Linked DNA regions of Homo sapiens: regions 1 and 2 are each linked to region 3. The links are contacts of gene promoters, found by promoter capture Hi-C in human tissues and cell types (Jung and others, 2019). All regions are on one chromosome and are shown on one strand. The core of a region is centred on a gene start or on the middle of the fragment in contact, and the rest is flanking DNA. Distances in the headings are between cores, read along the strand shown. Region 1 has its middle 56 kb from the start of CYB5B. Region 2 overlaps CYB5B (cytochrome b5 type B). Region 3 holds the start of NOB1 (NIN1 (RPN12) binding protein 1 homolog).

Evidence for each region. Contacts are between HindIII fragments. The study calls those that stand out against the background at their distance.
Region 1: a fragment that was not itself captured here is called in contact with the fragment with the promoter of NOB1 in region 3 in 1 of the 25 tissues and cell types used here (bladder).
Region 2: a contact is called between a fragment that was not itself captured here and the fragment with the promoter of NOB1 in region 3, in 1 of the 25 tissues and cell types used here (dorsolateral prefrontal cortex).

What each region holds. Positions count from the first base shown.
Region 1 is chr16:69,478,797-69,482,997 of GRCh38, reverse strand. No RefSeq gene overlaps it. Among named protein-coding and RNA genes, the nearest start is that of CYB5B, 56 kb to the right of the region's middle. The HindIII fragment of the contact is 7,934 bases long and covers 1-4,201 here.
Region 2 is chr16:69,441,043-69,445,475 of GRCh38, reverse strand. All of the region lies in intron 1 of CYB5B (cytochrome b5 type B), which reads right to left. It also overlaps the pseudogene LOC100420066. Among named protein-coding and RNA genes, the nearest start is that of CYB5B, 19 kb to the right of the region's middle. RefSeq lists enhancers at 973-1,232, 1,263-1,342 and a silencer at 1,689-1,971. The HindIII fragment of the contact is 5,837 bases long and covers 197-4,433 here.
Region 3 is chr16:69,752,786-69,757,132 of GRCh38, reverse strand. NOB1 (NIN1 (RPN12) binding protein 1 homolog) reads left to right here and starts at 2,207. Exons shown (of 9, transcript NM_014062.3): 1 at 2,207-2,285; 2 at 2,407-2,539. The coding sequence starts at 2,223. It also overlaps the pseudogene NONOP1. RefSeq lists enhancers at 1,915-2,537, 2,538-3,161. The HindIII fragment of the contact is 4,198 bases long and covers 65-4,262 here.

The DNA.
Region 1 (4,201 bases), core at 27-2,526, 270 kb after region 3:
CAAAAGGTTAAGAACCACAGTTCTGGAAGGCATGCAATTAGGCTAGCAAATCATCTCCATCCTAAACATGACCTGAACTGAAACAATCAAGAGAAAGGAAAAGTGCTTCATGCTCCAAAGAAAACAAAAGCCACTTCCAACAGGAATTGGCTGTCACATTCTCTGCACTTGGAAAAAAAAATCAACAGAGCATCCGCCCAGCCTGCCCAAGGCCCATCCCTTAAGCCCAGGTCCCCAGGGAAGGCAGTGAGCTTTTGTTTTCCAGTCTGTGGGCAACTGGCTGGGCAAAGAGCCAGTGGGGAGAGATCTCGATGGAAGAAAATACAGCGATGTGCCGAGTCGAGTGGGCTGGAAGCACCCGAAGGTGGGCCCTGGCTGATGCCGGGACAGAGATGCTGCGATGACCCATCGCAGGAGGAGCCATGTGCTGGCTGCTGCCTTCTCTCCTTCTCTCTTGACTTTGCTCCAGCCAGGATGTTGGGCCTGCTTTTCTCTCTTGGTGCTCCGGGCACCTCAGTATTAATCATGGGCCTCAGTGTTTTTCTAAGTAGATTTTTGGACCCTTCATGGTTGGCAAGTCCATGTTTCTCCCTGGGGCCACCCGTGCTATCAGATCAGAGCACCTGCCTATATTTAAGGTTGTGTCACGTTTGGTTTTCGGCGAACACTCCCTTCGCCTGGCCCTTCTTGCCTTTGTAAGAGAAGGACCTAGGACATGGCAAATGTCCCAGTGAACGCTGGAAGGAGCCCTGAGAGCAAGCGGGAGGGCCCGGAGCCAGCGTGCTGCGCCAGCACTCCGTGTAACCTCCAGGGAGGGCGCAGTCCACACATGTCCTGGCTTCCGAGAGGCAGGCCCTGGGTGTCAGCTCACAGCCATCCGCTCCAGCTCAGCCTCTCCAGCAGCCCCAGGGATTCTCACTGGGCCTGGAGTTGTTGTTTTTCTGTGTTTGCATATATGTCCTATCTTTACAGGAAACCAGGGGGATTCCTGGTTTCCTTCCCCAAATCTGTTTCTCCTCCAAGCTTTCTTATCTCAATAAACAGTGCCTTCATCACCCAGGTGCTCATCTTTCAGGTCCCAGCTGAAGCAGCACCTCCTCCTTGGAAAGATCCTCCCAAGCACCAGATCTGAAGTGACCCCATCACCCACCCACACACCAAGATACCCTCCTTCATGCCAGCCTGTTTGTTGATCACATTCTGTAATTATTTCATTTTTCTGTCTGTCTCCTCACTCAAAATGTAGAGCTGGCTGGGCACAGGGGCTCACGAATGTAGTCCCAGCACTTTGGGAGGCCGAGGTAGGTGGGAGGATCGCTTGAGCCCAGGGGTTTGAGACCAGCCTGGGCAATATAGTGAGACCCTGTCTCTACAAAAAAGAAAATTAAAAAATTAGCCTGAAGTGGTGGCATGGGCCTGTAGTCCCAGCTACTGGGGAGGCTGGGGTGGGAGGATCGCTTGAGCCCAGCAGGTCAAGGTTGCAGTGAGCTGTGATCACGCCACTGCACTCCAGCCTGGGCGACAGAGGAAGACCTTGCTCAAAAAATAAAAAAATAAAAAATAAAAAGTAGAGTCTATGAGGATGGGAACAGCTGGACATACTGTGTTTGTTTCTTTCGATTCACTCTCCAGCCCTCTCCCCTCCTGCCTACAGCTCAGGAGGCTGACCAATGGGGACTGTGCCTCGGGGGTCTCTGCAGACTCCTGGGTCGCCCACGCGCAGTTCCCATCCACGGAGGATCCCCAAGCTCCCAACTCCAAAGGCTTCCGGTTTGTGTCCCCTAAGGGGAGGCACAAGTAGGAGATGAGAGAGTGGAGGACAATGAGGCCAGGATGGCTCCCTCCCTGCTGTGGACCCTGCCCGCTCCCTCTGCTGCAACCCTTACCAGGCTCTAGTAACCACTTTCTCCCCTTGCCTGTCTGGGCAGTAACAGCTGCCATGTGTCACCAACCCTGAAATGCTTCACCATGCCTTCAACTAGTTCCTCTCTGCCCTGCACACATGGCTGCAAATGTCCCTTCATGAAACTCTCCTCAACGACCCTTTTTGAATGTGCCATTTGTTACCTGTCAGGAGCCTGGGGATGGTTCTGATCAATACTGGGGCCACGTCTGACTCATACAGTGTTTCCCAGCAACGTGCTGGGGAATGTCTGGCGTGTCTTAGGTACTTAATGCGTGTGTTTTGAATACATAAATCAATGATAAAGATATTGTGATTTTATTTACATTTTTATTAAGAAAGAATTTATGGGTCGGGTGTGGTGGCTCACACCTGTAATCCCAGCACTTTGGGAGGCCGAGGCAGGTGGATCACTTGAGGTCAGGAGTTTGAGACCAGCCTGGCCAACATGGGGAAACCCCGTCTCTACTAAAAATGCAAAAATTGTCTGGGCATGGTGATGTGCGCCTGTAGTCCCAGCCACTCAGGAGGCTGAGGTGGGAGGATGGTTTGAGCCCAGGAGGCGGAGGTTGCAGTAAGCTGAGATCGCATCACTGCACTCCAGTCTGGATGACAGAGCAGGACTCCATCTCAAAAAAAAAAAAAAAAAAAAGAATTTATGCACCACAAAATTCACCCTTTTAAAGTATACAATTTAGTGTTTTTCAGTGTATTCACAAACATATGAGATGAGACCATTACCACTGTCTAATTTCATCCCCTCAAAAAGGAACTCTGTGCCCTTTGGCAGTGACTCCCCACATCTCCCCTCCCCCTGCACCCGGAAACAACTTATCTACCTTCTGTCTCTATGAACTTGCCTATTTTGGACTTTTCATTCCAATGGAAGTTACAGTATGTGGTCATTTGTGTCTGGCTTCTTTCACTTAGGCACAGTATTCTTAAGGTTCACCCATGGTGGGGCATGTATCAATACTTGATTTCTTTTTATAGCTGAATAACATTCCAGTATATAGAGACAACACACTTTGTTTACCCATTCATCAGGTGATAGACGTTTGGGTCATTTCCGCCCCTTTGGGCTATTATGAGTAAGCTGCTATGAACATCGGCATACTTGTTTTTGTGTGAGCATGTTTTCAATACTCTTGGGTACATATCTAAGAGTGGAATTGCTGGGTCACATGGTAACTCTATGTTTAACTTTTTGAGGAAGCATACTGTGTTTTCCATGGGGCTACCCAGTACTTTCTTTATCCTGTGGTCCCAGTTATTGGCATCTGCATGGAAAAGAACCCAAACAGACAAGGATGTGAATCAAAGGAAGGCTCAACACTGCAGGTCCACTCCAAGGTATACATCCAGGAGACATTCTTGCACACACAAACCAGGCTATAAACGCAGTAATGCTCATAGTAGTATTGTTGGCAAAAAACAAAAAAAAACAAAAAAAAAAACCAATGACCTAATGTCCATTAACAGTAGATTGAGGTGGGTGTGGTGGTTCACACCTGTAATCCCAGCACTTCGGGAGGCCAAGGCAGACAGATCACCTGAGGTCAGGAGTTTGAGAACAGCTTGGCCAACATGGCAAAACCCTGTCTCTACTAAAAATTTAAAAAAATAATAAAAATAAAAAAATTAGCCGGGCATGGTGGCACTCACTTGTAGTCCCAGCTACTCAGGAAGCTGAGGCAAGAGAACTGCTTGAACCTGGGGTATGGAGGTTGCAATGAGCCGAGATTCCACCACTGCACTCTAGCCTGGCCGACAGAATAAGACTCCATCTCAAAAACAAAAAATAAAACAATAGATCAGATAAATACATTGTGGATGATGCATCCAAAAAAAATACGAATGACAGCTACACATAACAGCATGGGTGAATCTCACAAACATATTGTTGAAAGAAACACATCACAAGAGAATACATACATTATGATTTCATTTATACAAAGTTCCAGAACAAGCAAAACTAAATCATGTGGTTTAAGATTGCAAGTGTAGGTACAAAAACTATTTTAAAAAAATTACAACCAAAAAACCAGGATATTGGTTGTCTCTGGCAGGAAGAAAGGGAGACACGTCAGAGAGGGGCACAAGAAAGTCTTCCAGGCTGTAGCCAATGTTCTAGTTCTTGTCCTGGGTGATGGATACATTGGGGTTTATTCTGAATGGCTCATAACTGTATATAGGTACTTACCTACTTATGCCCTATTCTGAAAGGATTTTTTTTGTGTTTGTTTTTTTGAGACAGTCTCGCTCTGTCACCCAGGCTGGAGTGCAATGGCGTGATCT
Region 2 (4,433 bases), core at 1,866-4,365, 310 kb after region 3:
AATAAATTATCATTCCTATTTTAAATAAATGTTAATTCAATTGAAGTATAAAAACTGTAAGTGTTACTTCCCAGTCATAGTCACCAGCCTATGAGCTCCCTGAGGATAAGGATAACTTCTATTTTTATCTCCTAAAAGGTCTCCACCCAGTGAGTGGGTCTCACATCCCAGTATTTAAGAATGCTATTTTACAGCAAGAGTAAGACAGCCACGATTCACTTGTTATTATATCTGAAACTCTCAGGTTATTATATGTGAAACTGTTCTTTGTTGTGGAACTAAGTCATCAGTTCTGGAATTATGTCCCAATTTGTTCTATACACCTAAACTATGGATGATATTTTTTCCTTTTGACACAACCCAACTATTGTGTTGCCTTTCAGAGTAAAAGGACAATAAAACTCCTTCATAGATTACAACATTTCAGGGAATGACTGAATTTTTGACTTGCTACACAGTTCTTTCTACAAGTACTTTCACTTTCATCAGTCTCTCACCACTTATAAACAAGAGAAAGCACAACACTTTTTTAAAATATTAAGTAAAAGTTATATATTCGCTGTGGTAAATTTGGAAAAAAGAATAATCAACTAGAGTCCTGGAACAGAAATAAGTCCAGTTAACAATTTGGTGCATAAAACTTCATTTTTCCTGTGTATTCTTTCAATCATTTCAGCCATTAGTCTACAATTTTTTATTGAATCCTTACTATTTTGTGTGGTAGGCAGTGATAAATAAAAGTTTTTTGTGTTCTCACAAAGTGAATTCATGTAGTACATAATGTTTTGTAGCCTGCTTCTTTTTTTTTTTCACTGAAGCAAGTGGGGGTCAGAGTGATCAAACAAAATTCTACGGTTTAATAACTTTCACTCTAAAATATGGTCTTAATAGAGATGGCTTAGAACAAGCAAAAAGACGTCAGGGAGCTTTTGGTTTCTGTTTAGAACTCTATAGTCTCCAGATAGAGTTAGCGAAAATCAAATGGATGCAGGGCTGCCATGGGCCACTGGCAGCCCAGCTGGAGGAGTTGGAATCACTGCACTAGGCCCGAGGCTATAGCAGGGTCCTGGCCAGTCTTAGGCCAAGATAATGCCCAGGCTGAGGAGCATACGAAGGCCTCGACGAAAACCCAAAGAGCCCCGGCACCCCAGGAGAAGCCAGACCAGCTCTCAGTGAAGACAGAGGGTAGGAGCTACTGTCCAACTCCAGCGTCAGCCACTGGATGGTCCCGCCCATGTTTATCATCTGCTTCTTCTCAGATATGATCTGCCACTACATGTTCATCCTGGTACAGAGCGACAAGAAGCTCACCCAGGAGCAAGTATCTGACAGTTAAGTCCTAATTTGAAGCAGAGCCTTCAGTGAAAATGGAAATTACATTCCCAAAAAGTCTTTTTCTTGACATGAGAATATTACATCAACAACCCAGAGGATAAAAATATCACCACTTCCTCCCACTATGCTCTCAGGCATGATGAAAGGAAATATAACAAACGTCATCCCTATGATTCTTACTTGTGAATGGATCAACATTGACATACTCAGGCATTGTTGCAACCAAGGTCCTATTTCCACTGACCCTCTGTTTTTTGTTGTTGTTGTTTGTTTGTTTGTTTGTTTTGAGACGGAGTCTCACTCTGTTGCCCAGGCTGGAATGCAGTAGCACAATCTCGGCTCACTGCAACCTCTGCCTCCCAAGTTCAAGCGATTCTCCTGCCTCAGCCTCCCAGGTAGCTGGGACTACAGGTGCCTGCCACCATGCCCAGCTAATTTTTGTGTTTTTAGTAGAGACAAGGTTTCACCACGTTGGCCAGGCTGGTCTCGAACTCCTGACCTCAGGTGATTCACCCGCCTCGGCCTCCTAAAGTGCTGGGATTACAGGCATGAGCCACTGCACCCGGCCGACCCTCTGGTTTTAAGCCTATGCTGCAGCAAGTTATCAAACTACTCACATTAGATCCACCCTGAATGAGCTCTGCATCCTGGTATTTCCTCAACGTATTTGGGCTTCAGAGAATTTACTGTGATTCTAGGCCAAGATAATGGCAACTGACCAATAAGAAATGAGGCAGGAGCAGATGACCAGAGCAGCCATGGCCATGCCCACAGAAACCAGCAAAGCTTCCAAGACAAAGTAGAAAGTTCTGGAGCTGATGGGTCACCAGTGGACACCAGATGATGTCAAAGAGCTCATGGGCAAAGGCCTTCACTTTGAAGTTATGTTCAAAAAGGAGTTACAAGACCAAGTGCCATGGCTCACGCCTGTAATCCCAACACTTTGGGAGGCTGAAGAGGGCGGATCACTTGAGGCCAGGAGTTTGAGACCAGCCTGGCCAACGTGGTGAAACCCTGTCTCTACTAAAAGTACAAAAATTAGCTGGGTATGCTGGCGCTCACCTGTAATCCCAACTATTCGGGAAAACCACTTGAACCCGGGAGGCGAAGTTTTCAGTGAGCCACAATCGCACCACTGCACTCCAGCCTGGGCAATACAGTGAAGCTCTGTCACAAAAAAAATTTTTAAAAAAGCCTCTATTTTTTGAAGACCAAGTAGTAAAAATTAGCTCTGCCAGAACTTGGAGTAGTCCTTAACCTGCTAACTTGTGTTTGAGCTAGAGACTCTCAGAATTTAAAAAAAAAAAAAAAAAAAGGATAGCTAGGCACAGTGGCTCACACCTGTATTCCCAACACTTTGGGAGGCCAAGGCAGGAAGATTGCTTGAGGCCAGGAATTCAAGACCAACCTGGGCAACCAAGCAAGACCTTGTTCTCCACAAAAAAAATTTTAAAAATTAAAAAATTATCCAGGCATGGTGGCCTGTAGTCCTGGCTACTCAGGAAGCTGAATTAGGAGGATCATCCAGAAGCCAAGGAATTCGAGGCATGGCGCCACTGCACTGCAGCCTGGGCAACGGAGACCCTGTCACTAAAAAAATTAAAAATACATAAATATTAAAAAGTAAAAAATAATAATTTAAAAAGAAAGATATATGAGCCGCTGAGCATGCAGCAAGGATCATTCTTATCTGAGCCAGGTTTCCCTTTATGCCTGAAACTAGAAAAAATGCAGTGTGTGTGCTGGATGATTTACAGGGAAAGAGCCATTTAAAAAATGTTTTACATTTTCCTTCTGGTGACTCTAGAAATGAGAGGCAGAGAAAGGGGAAAACTTAAGCTAGCCAAAATATAAACATTTACCAAAAATTCAATCTTTGAAAAAGCATTATTATTTTCTGAAAGATTTCATGTAAACAAAGAAAGAAAAAGCATTATTAATTATAACTAATTATTATATGCAGTCTGACTTTTAATCACAGTAAGCTCCTATTTTGAGATCCAAGCACCCTGCATTTTTATATTTAATTGTTAGTATTTTTATAACTTTCTTTACAAAAGTAATAATTTTCATTACCAAAAATTTAGAAACTATAGATAAGCAAAATGAATCTCCCTGTATTGTTCATTCTGAGCCTACAGGATGACATGAAGAGCAAATACGTGAAAACTTCATTCACACAAACTCTTTTCAGACAGATTATCCAGGGCCAGGAAAAGTAGCAAACCTTCTATATATTTTAATACTATCCAGGGAAAATTAGTGACCCTGACATACTGCCAGATCTATTTCCCATCTAGGGAACTTTCAGGATCATCAAAGACAGGTTAAGTAATGGGAAGTTCTTGATCTAGAGTTGAGAATATTATCAAACCCACTGAAAAAAAATGAGTTTCTATACTGTATATGTCCAGTCAGTTGAACTAAAAACCCCAGATATTCTAGATAAGAGTTTACATAACTTTTTAAGAAGGCAGAGAGATCAACTGCTGGCAGACATCTAGGTGAGGGTTGCACAGGAATTTTTCTGTCTGGAATAAATGTCCAGGGAAGTGGCAGGGTACCATTTCTGTATCAACAGGTAGATGAAATTTGCATAATGAGCACTGTAATCAAGAAGAAATGACTCTTGACTACAAATTAAACCATCTCGCTTTCTCTTTAAGAAATAAATCAAAGAGAAGTAAGGACAGTCGTGGTGGCTCACGCCTATAATCCCAGCACTTTGGGAGGCTGAGGCGGGCGGATCACGAGGTCAGGAGACCGAGACCATCCTGGCCAACATGGTGAAACCCTGTCTGTACTAAAAATACAAAAAATTAGCTGGATGTGGTGGCATGTGCCTGTAAGTCCCAGCTACTCAGGAGGCTGAGGCAGGAAAATCACTTGAACGCGGGAGGCGGAGGTTGCAGTGAGCTGAGATTGTGCCACTGCACTCCAGCCTGGGCAACAGAGCAAGACTCCATCTCAAAAAAAAAAAAAAAAAAGAGAGAAGTAAAACTGGGAAATCAGAATAATATCTGTGGACTGATTAATGTCAATATCCTGGTTGTGATACCATACTAAAGTCTTGCAAAATGTTACAAATGAGAGAAGAG
Region 3 (4,347 bases), core at 958-3,457:
ACTCATTGAGATGGAGAAGCAGCAGCAGGACCAAGTGGACCGCAACATCAAAGAGGCTCGTGAGAAGCCAGAGATGGAGATGGAGGCTGCACGCCATAAGCACCAGGTCATGCTAATGAGACAGAATTTGATGAGGCGCCAAGAAGAACTTCGGAGGATGGAAGAGCTGCACAACCAAGAGGTGCAAAAACGAAAGCAACTGGAGCTCAGGCAGGAGGAAGAGCGCAGGCGCCCTGAAGAAGAGATGCGGCGGCAGCAAGAAGAAATGATGCAGCCACAGCAGGAAGGATTCAAGGGAACCTTCCCTGATGTGAGAGAGCAGGAGATTTGGATGGGTCAGATGGCTATGGGAGGTGCTATGGGCATAAACAGCAGAGGTGCCTTGACCCCTGCTCCTGTGCCAGCTGGTACCCCAGCTCCTCCAGGACCTGCCACTATGATGCCGGATGGAACTTTGGGATTGACCCCACCAACAACTGAACGCTTTGGTCAGGCTGCTACAATGGAAGGAATTGGGGCAATTGGTGAAACTCCTCCTGCATTCAACCATGCAGCTCCTGGAGCTGAATTTGCTCCAAACAAACGTCGCCGATACTAATAAGTTGCAGTGTCTAGTTTCTCAAAACCCTTAAAAGAAGGACCCTTTTTGGACCAGCCAGAATTCTACCCTGGAAAAGTGTTAGGGATTCCTTCCAATAGTTAGATCTACCCTGCCTGTACTACTCTAGGGAGTATGCTGGAGGCAGAGGACAAGGGAGGGGTGGTATTAAACAAGTCAATTCTATGTAGTATATTATTTAATCAGTTCTGTGTGGTGCATTCCTGAAGTCTCAAATGTGATTGTTGAGGGCCTGGGGAAACCATGGCAAAGTAGATCCAGTTAGAGCCCATTAATCTTGATCATTCTGTTTTTTTGGTTTGTTTGTTGTTTTTTTTTTTTTTTTTTTTTGTCCATCTTGTTTCATTTGCTTGCCCTGCCCCCGAGATGGAGTCTTACTCTGTCGCCCAGGCTGGAGTGTAGTGGCACGATCTCGGCTCACTGCAATCTCTGCCTCTCGGGTTCAAGCTTGTCCAGGCTGATCTTGAACTCCTGACCTCGTGATCCCCTGCCTCAGCCTCCCAAAATGCTGGGATTACAGGGGTGAGCCACCGTGCCCAACCTCACTTGCTTTCTTATCCTTACACTCCCCCAGTCCCAGAGAAACTGCCACATACACCACAAAAACCAAACATCCCCCAATGACCTTAGCCGCATTGCTCCATTCACTCCCAGGTGAGAATTCAGGTAAACGTCCACAAAGGTCACAGGCAACGTACATACGGTTCTATTATATCCCATATATTACCCCTTCATGTCCTAAAGAAGACATTTTCTCTTAGAGATTTTCATTTTAGTATATCTTTAAAAAAAAATCTTGTGTTAACTTGCCTCCATCTTTTTCTTGGGTGAGGACACCCAGGAATGACCCTTTTGTGTCTATGATACTGCTGTTCACAGCTTTTCTTGATAGGCCTAGTACAATCTTGGGAACAGGGTTACTGTATACTGAAGGTCTGACAGTAGCTCTTAGACTCGCCTATCTTAGGTAGTCATGCTGTGCCTTTTTTTTCCATTGGTGTATTGTATTTGATTTGTCTCTGATATATTTGGAGTTTTTCTGAGAACTGGAGCAGTAATGCAGCATCGACCTATTAAAATACATTTTAAGCCTTTAAAAAAAAACAGTACCTATCTCATAGGGGTGCTGTGATAACGAAATTAGGTAATCTGTATTGATTGACTTTTAACCATAAGAATATATACAGGTTTTAAATTTATTTATTTATTGAAGAGATGGGGGTCTCTCTATGTTGCCCAGGCTGGTTTCACATTCCAGGGCTCAGGCAATCCTTTCGCCTCAGCCTCCTTAATAGCTGGGACTCTAGGCGCGCACCACTACACCTGGCAGGTTTTATCTTCAAAGGTGAAGAAGGCACTAAGGTCTAGATGCTGAAGCCGATTTCCCAGGTGTCCCCCAAGGTTTGACCCCGCCCACACTTCTCTGGCTATGCGGGCGGCGTCGCTGCGCATGCGCGCGAGTAGAGCAGGGAGGTGCTGGCGCGGCCGCCAGGAGGCGCAGCTAAGTCGCGGCTGCTCTTCCTGGTTCCCAGAGGCCCAGACTTGGACATAGGAGCCGGCGCAAGCTCCGTGCGCATGCGCGCTCCCCTCTCACGCAGCCAACATGGCTCCAGTGGAGCACGTTGTGGCGGATGCTGGGGCTTTCCTGCGGCATGCGGCTCTGCAGGTACGGGGAGCTCCCTCCGGGACGAGAGAGATCTGGGCTGGCCGCCCCTCCCGGAGTGCGTGGAGTCGCGCGGAGCGTTGCTTGGTGCGGGTGGGTCTGAGCTGGGGCGTTCTGTCCGCAGGACATCGGGAAGAACATTTACACCATCCGGGAGGTGGTCACTGAGATTCGGGACAAGGCCACACGCAGGCGGCTCGCTGTCCTGCCCTACGAGCTGCGGTTCAAGGAGCCCTTACCGGAATACGTGCGGCTGGGTGAGTGCCTCTGCCCTAGCGTTGACGGGAAGCTGGGGTCCAGGGCGCAGATGGCACCCAGTTGGGTGCGAGTTGGGGTCTAGCTGCCTTATCAGAGCAGTAGATTTAGAGCCAGCACTTTCTAGGAGATTGTGGTAGGAGAGAGGCTTCCTGGGTCTGGAGTCCTCCAGTAACTAGCTGTATGCTCTCGGGCATAGCATTCAAATTTGGGCCTCGTTTACCTCATCCGCAAAATGGGAATAATAATTGTATCTGTCTCCAAGGTTGCTGTGAGCATGAACTGAGGAATATGGCAGTCAGCTCAGTGTCAAGCACTTTGCAGACAAGCAATAAATTTATTTGGATTTAAAATAAGAGTTTGGATCTCTTGCTATTACTCTCGTCCATTTCTTTTCAGTAGATTGGGCTGATGACTGGATACAAAGATCTGCACCTGGCAGAGCTTTAAAAAGGGAATGCTTTGCATTGTATTAAATGTGAAAGAAAATTAAGCTGGGCGCGGTGGCTTACGGCCTGTAATCCCAGCACTGGGAGACCGAGGCGGGCGCATCACCTGAGGTCAGGAGTTTGAGACCAGCCTGACCAACATGGTGAAACCCTGCCTCTACTAAAAATACAAAATTAGCTGGGCGTGGTGGTGTGCTCCTGTAATCCCAGCTACTTGGGAGGCTGAGGCAGGAGAATTGCTTGAACCTGGAGGTGGAGGTTGCAGTGAGCCGAGATCGTACCACTGCACTCCAGCCTGGGCGACAGAGCGAGACTCTGTCTCAAAAAAAATAAGAAATAAAGAAAATTAAAGAATTGTCTCTTGGCTTAGGAGTCAGCGTTGTTCTCTTGTTGGGAATCAAGGTGATACCCAGGAAAGGCCCCTCAGTGGTTGGAAGTGTTTTAGAGGTTAGAGGCTGATAGTGGAGATGATGTTACCTCCTCTGTTTGTGATTTCTACGATTTTCTCCACCAACTTAGTAGCTCTGTGATCTTTGCCAACTTACTAAATCTTTCCGAGGAAATACTAATAGTACTTTTGAAGAATGGCAAAGGATGAAATGCATTAACACATAAAGCTTTTAATGCAGTGCCTAGTACACAGTAAGTGCACAGTAAATTTTCGTTGCTGCTAATGTCTGTTTTTTAGGAAATAAGAGCAATATACCTAGTGTTCCTTGTACCAGGGTAGCAGGAGACATCTTTCTGTTAATTTCAGGAAATTTTAAGTGTTTATTATGGATGACTCTGGAGAATAACAGCAGTCTGACATGTATTATGCATTAAGCACATGCTTTTTGTTTCCTCATAGACTACTACAATTACAAGTTGAGCATACTGAATCTGAAATCCAGAATGCTCCTAAATCTGAAACTTTTTTTTTTTTGAGATGGAGTCTGGCTGTGTTGCCTAGCCTGGAGTGCAGTGGCACGATCTTGGCTCACTGCAGCCTCCACCTCCTGGGTTCCAGCAATTCTTCTGCCTCAGCCTCCCCAGTAGCTGGGACTACAGGCACACGCCACCACACCTGGCTAACTTTTGTATTTTTAGGAGACAAGGGGTTTCACCATGTTGGCCAGGCTGGTCTGGAACTCCTGACCTCAAGTGATCTACCCACCTCAGCCTCCTGTAGTGAGGTGTGAGCCACCACGCCCCAACTTTCTTCTTTTTTTTGAGAAGGAGTCTCACTCTGTCGCCCAGGCTGGAGTGCAGTGGCGCAATCTTGACTCACTGCAACCTCCGCCTCCCAGGTTCAAACAATTCTCCTGCCTCCGCCTCCTGAGTAGCTGGGATTACAGGCCCCCCCGCTACCACACCGGGAT